2 separate regions of the Homo sapiens genome follow, and region 1 is linked to region 2. The links are contacts of gene promoters, found by promoter capture Hi-C in blood cells and fetal thymus (Javierre and others, 2016). All regions are on one chromosome and are shown on one strand. Each heading gives the region's core, a stretch centred on a gene start or on the middle of the fragment in contact. The rest is flanking DNA. Distances are from core to core; before and after follow the strand shown. Region 1 has its middle 17 kb from the start of ARF6. Region 2 holds the start of LINC01588 (long intergenic non-protein coding RNA 1588).

Region 1 (2,700 bases), core at 27-2,526, 97 kb before region 2:
TGGATCATGAGGTTAGGAGATCGAGACCATCCTGGCTAACACGGTGAAACCCTGTCTCTACTGAAAATACAAAAAAAAATTAGCCGGGCGTGGTGGCGGGCGCCTGTAGTCCCAGCTACTCAGGAGGCTGAGGCAGGAGAATGGTGTGAACCCTGGAGGCGGAGCTTTCAGTGAGCCGAGATCGCGCCACTGTGCTCCAGCCTGGGCAACAGAGTGAGACTCCGTCTCAAAAAAAAAAAAAAATCTCAAATGTAACTAATGATCAAGTCTGTAGGTAAACATAGATAGGTCTCTCAAGGTAAACGCTGGCATATTATATAAAAAATTCTTGACCTTTTATGATTGATTGCTTGTCTTTATGACTTGGACTCTTTTTATAAGATTGGATTGCATTTTTAATTCTCTCCAACTCATGAGTAATACTTGATTTATGACAGTAAATGCATTTTACACAAGAACCTAATATTTAGAAACTTACTGAAGTATCTTAAATCCTGTTTTTGTCATCAAGACAAACTTGAATTAAAGACTAAAACATTACATTTTTATTTTTTATTTTTTTTGCTTAGTATAATAATATGGTAGTGGTATCTTAGGGGAAATGTTTTAAATAAATACTAATATATCTTTTTCTTTTATTATTTCTTGGGTATCTTGTTGAATACAGTATGGATTTTAGACTAGCATGACAACATTTCTAAATTGCCTTCTGGTCAAGAGTGGTGGTTCACACCTGTAATCCCAGTACTTTGGGAAGCCAAGATGGAAGGATTGCTTGAGGCCAAGAGTTTGAGACCCACCTGGGCAATATAGTGAGACCATGTCTGTTTTTTTTTTCTTTTTTTCAATAGAGATGAGGTTTTGCCATGTTGGCCAGGCTCGTCTCGAACTCCTGAGGCTCAAGTGAACCACCCACCTCGGCCTCCCAAAGCGCTGGGATTACAGGTGTGAGCCACCACACCCAGCTAGACCACATCTCTTTTTAAACAATCAATCAATCAATCAATCAATCAATCAATATGGTTGGCAGGGCTATTGTTTCCATATGCTTAGACATCCTAGACATGTTAATTTTTCTCCTTTCAAACCTATGGTAATTTCTAGGTTCTTTTTCTTGCTGCATGTCCCAATCTAATAAAACCTAAAGTGTTACCCACTGATACACCTCAGGGTCCATGCTGCTTTGCTGAGCATCAAAATAGTGATTTAGGAAATTGTGATTTCTGGATTCTGGATTACAGTGTTAGAAATACCCAAGAAATTAGGATCTGGAAACATCCTATGTATGATGCTATGAAGGCCATTCATTGAATGGAAAAAGGATTGAAGATGGAAGAGAACCTCCTTTCCTCATATAAGCCATATATGATACTTATCTTTTTTTTTTGAGATGGAGTTTCACTCTATCATCCAGGCTGGAGGGCAGTCGCGGGATCTTTGTGGCTCTCTGCAACCTCCGCCTCCTGGGTTCAAGGGATTCTCCTGCCTTAGCCTCCTGAGTACCTTGGATTACAGGTGTGTGCCACCACACTTAGCTGATTTTTGTATTTTTAGTAGAGATGGGGTTTTGCCATGTTTGCCAGGCTGGTCTTGAACTCCTGACCTCAGGTGATCCACCTGCCTCAGCCTTCCAAAGCGCTGGGATTACAGGCATGAGACATTGTGTCCAGCCCTTCCTACCTTTTTTTTTTTTTTTTTTTTTGCAAGCATTTTTAGTTTCCTTTCTGACAGGATTGATTTGGGTAAAGAACATTGAATTTTGAGTCAATAGTCTCAAATAGATAGACCTATGTTTGAATTCCAACCCTGACCTCAATAGCTAAGTGACACTGGAAAATCTATCTCTTTGTCTCAGTTTTCCTGCTAAAAATCGGGATGGTAATGTTCACCCAGCAAGGCTTTATCACAAAAAGTGGTAACTTATGAGAAAGTCCCTATCTGGCATGGTAAGCACTCAAGAGAAATTAGTTCTATTTTCCTTCTTCCCTCTAGTTTAATAATTTAAAAAATTAAATCATGCAGCCATAAAAAAGAATGAAATTATGTCCTTTGCAGCAACAAGGATGCAGTTGGAGGCCATTATCCTAAGCGAATTAACACAGAAACAGAAAACCTAATGCCGCACATTCTTACTTATAAGTGGGAGCTAAACACTGGGTACACACAGACACAAAGATGGGAACAGTAGGCATTGGGGATTCAAAAAGGCAGAAGAGAGGAAGGGGGGCCAGGTTTGAAGAACTACTTGTGTTCACTACTTGGATGATGGGATCATTAGAGGCCTAAACCTCAGCATCATGCAATATACCCATGTAACAAACCTGTGCCCGTACCCTCTGAATCTTGGATAAAAAAATAAAAGCAGGCCAGGAGCGGTGGCTCATCCCTATAATCCCAGCACTTTGGGAGGCTGAGGCGGGCGGATCACTTGAGGTCAGGAGTTCGAGCCCAGCCTGGCCAACATGATGATACCCCATCTCTACTAAAAATACAAAAATTAGCTGGGCACAGTGGTGGGCGCCTGTAGTCCCAGCTACTCGGGAGGCTGAGGCAGGAGAATCACCTGAACCCAGGAGGCCGATGTTGCAGTGAGCCAAGATTGCGCTGCTACACTCCAGCCTGGGTGACAGAGTGAGACTCCATCTCAAAAAAAAAAAAAAAAAAAAAAATATATATATATATATATATATATACACACAC
Region 2 (2,700 bases), core at 20-2,519:
TGGGGAGAGGAGCTTTTCCTCCTGGCTTTCCCACAAACACTGACTTCCATGCCTCTGGCCTGGAACCACATGTAACCAAAGCCATATGTTCAACTTGCGTTAATTAAATGGTGGCCTCAGCAACATTTCTGGTGCTGCTTCTGTTGCTTTGGCATTATGATGTCTTCAATATTTGTTACTGTGTGTCGTTTGTCATGTTTAACCCAGTGGCTCAGATTCTATTTGTTTGTAAAACTTAAATGTTGAGAGACTTCTGTTCTTGATTTTTTAGAAAATAAAAATTATTTTTGGTTTATTCCATGAGAACATATCTTCTATAGGTTGAACCTCCAAGGTTCTTCCTTCTTGATTTTTCTGGGAGATGACTGTAATTTTTTTTTTTTTTTGAGACGGAGTTTCGTTGCTGTTGCCCAGGCTGCTGGAGTGCAATGGTGCAATCTCAGCTCACCGCAACCTCCGCCTCCCGGGTTCAAGGAATTCTCCTGCCTCAGCCTCCCAAGTAGCCGGGACTACAAATGCGTGCCACCACGCCCAGCTAATTTTTGTATTTTTAGTAGAGATGGGGTTTCACCATGTTGGTTAAGCTGGTCTTGATCCACCTGCCTCAGCCTCCCAAAGTGCTGAGATTATAGGCGTAAGCCACTGTGCCTGGTGTAATCTTAACTGCTTTTTAGGAAATGGTGTAAGAAAAGGCTGTGCCATAAACTCAAAATCCTACTAATCCCCAGTTCTCAGCCCCAAACCGAAGAAAGATTACATTTCCAGTCCAGTTTCTAATCCCAAGTATCCATGCACCCAGGATGGCGGGAAAAGGGAAAAGGCGGTACCTTAAATGAGGGAAGGACATCTCAGTCTTGGCCAGTTCTTACTCTTCCCAGGGGCCACCCTCAAGCCCCACCCTGAGCAGGTAAGTGAGGCAGGCAGGCAGCCTGGGAGCATGTGTGGGAGGGAATCCAACGGTGTTCTCCAGGCTGCAAGAGCTGGGCAGACACAATCGTGCTGCAGCCCTGGCCTGTGTTTTTCTTTCCCACAAAGACCAACACCGGTGCTGCTGACATCATGACAGGTTTGATCATTTTTATTTTGCGGTGAGCGTGGTGTCATGGTGATGAAGAGTCCTGTGAGCTTGTGCAGGTCCCCTCAACTGCAGGCTGTCCAGGCTTCCTCCTCTACAGTAAAGACAAGGAGAATGGCTGCTTCCTAAGGTGATGGCGAGGTAGGATGAGGAGTGTAAACGGCCCACCCTGCTCCCAGTGGTAACTATGGGTATGATTTCCTTTTGGGAGAAGACAGAGATTGCCCTTCTGATCCTCCCAGCTGTAAATTTGGGCTGGGGCAACTTTTAGACACAAACAGGGCACTCCTGGCTACAGGGCCTCAATGTTTTCCTTGAGGTGGAGTATCTAGGCATTTCCCTGAGGTTTCTGATGCCTGGGCAGGGTGGGGTGGGGTGTGGCTGGTTCTGACAGCTGTTCCCCACCCAGCTTTGTGCCCTGGGGAGGGAGATCTACCTGCACATCCCGCTGCACTGGATCTGCAGGGAGCTGGGGCTGCCCTTGGACGCCTCAGGCACAGGCCCTCATCCTCTGCCTAACTGCTTTTTACACCCATCCCTTGAGTCCAGGGAGATTTTGCCACAATTTCAAAAAAGAAATGATTATTCAGAAGGCATTCTTCTATATATTTCCTTTTTTTTTTTTTTTGAGATGGAGTTTCGCTCTGTCACCAGGCTGGAGTGCAGTGGCATGATCGGCTCACTGCAACCTCCGCCTCATGGGTTCAAGCGATTCTCCTGCCTCAGCCTCCCGAGTAGCTGGGACTACAGGTGCATGCCACCACGCCCAGCTAATATTTTAATTTTTAGTAGAGATGGGGTTTCACCATGTTGGCCAGGATGGTCTTAATCTCTTGACCTCGTGATCTGCCCGCCTCAGCCTCCCAAAGTGCTGGGATTACAGGCATGAGCCACCGTGCCTGGCCACATTTCTGTATATCTTGCAAGCAGACACACTGTCTGTCTTTTATTTGATCATCTTTCCAAGGATGCTGGTATAGCATGTATGCTTGGAAAATAGAGATGCTGTTTCTCCAGAGAAAGGGGGAGCTTGCTTGCATTCTTCTATGTAGTTCTAAGGCCCCTGCTCCACTGTACAGCAAGTGGCCACACCCTTAGTGTCTTCCTTGCCTAACCCAGACCCTTACAGCACTCAGCTTGGAAAAGACCCTTGCAGCGCTCAGTTGGGTGCCATGATTATGCCTGTAATCCCAGCACTTAGGGAGGCCAAGGTGGGTGGGTCACTTGAGCCTGGGAGTTTGAGACCAGCCTGGGCACCATGGCAAAACGCCATCTCTAAAAAAAAAAAAAAAAAAAACCACAAAAATTAGCCAGGCATGAGGATGCACCTGTAGTCCCAGCTACTGGGGAGGTTGCTGCAGTGGGAGGATTGCCTGAACCCAGGGAGGTTGAGGCTGCAGTGGGCTGTGATTGTGCCACTGCACTCTATCTTGGGTGACAGAGTGAGACCCTGTCTCAAACGAAAACAAAATTTCAAAAAAAAAAAAAAGAATGCATTCTTGCCCTTAGAGGCTCCATCCTCACCTCCCTCTTCTGGTTTCTCTTCCTCTGTCTCTGCTGTGTGTGTCTTTAATAAAGAACACTGAAATTAGTGAGCCAGGTTTGCCTCCTGGGCAGGAATTATG

Evidence for each region. The method cuts DNA at HindIII sites, captures the fragments that hold promoters and counts their contacts. A CHiCAGO score of 5 or more calls a contact.
Region 1: a contact is called between a fragment that was not itself captured here and the fragment with the promoter of LINC01588 in region 2, in 16 of 17 cell types (activated CD4 T cells, M0 macrophages, non-activated CD4 T cells and 13 more). The highest score is 33.8, in activated CD4 T cells.

Annotation. Positions count from the first base shown.
Region 1 is chr14:49,908,837-49,911,536 of GRCh38, forward strand. No RefSeq gene overlaps it. Among named protein-coding and RNA genes, the nearest start is that of ARF6, 17 kb to the left of the region's middle. The HindIII fragment of the contact is 4,514 bases long and covers 1-2,700 here.
Region 2 is chr14:50,006,251-50,008,950 of GRCh38, forward strand. It overlaps LINC01588 (long intergenic non-protein coding RNA 1588), which reads right to left and starts at 1,270. Exons shown (of 4, transcript NR_126498.1): 1 at 1-1,270. It overlaps LINC01599 (long intergenic non-protein coding RNA 1599), which reads right to left. Exons shown (of 9, transcript NR_131171.1): 9 at 1,063-1,169. The HindIII fragment of the contact is 14,705 bases long and covers 1-2,700 here.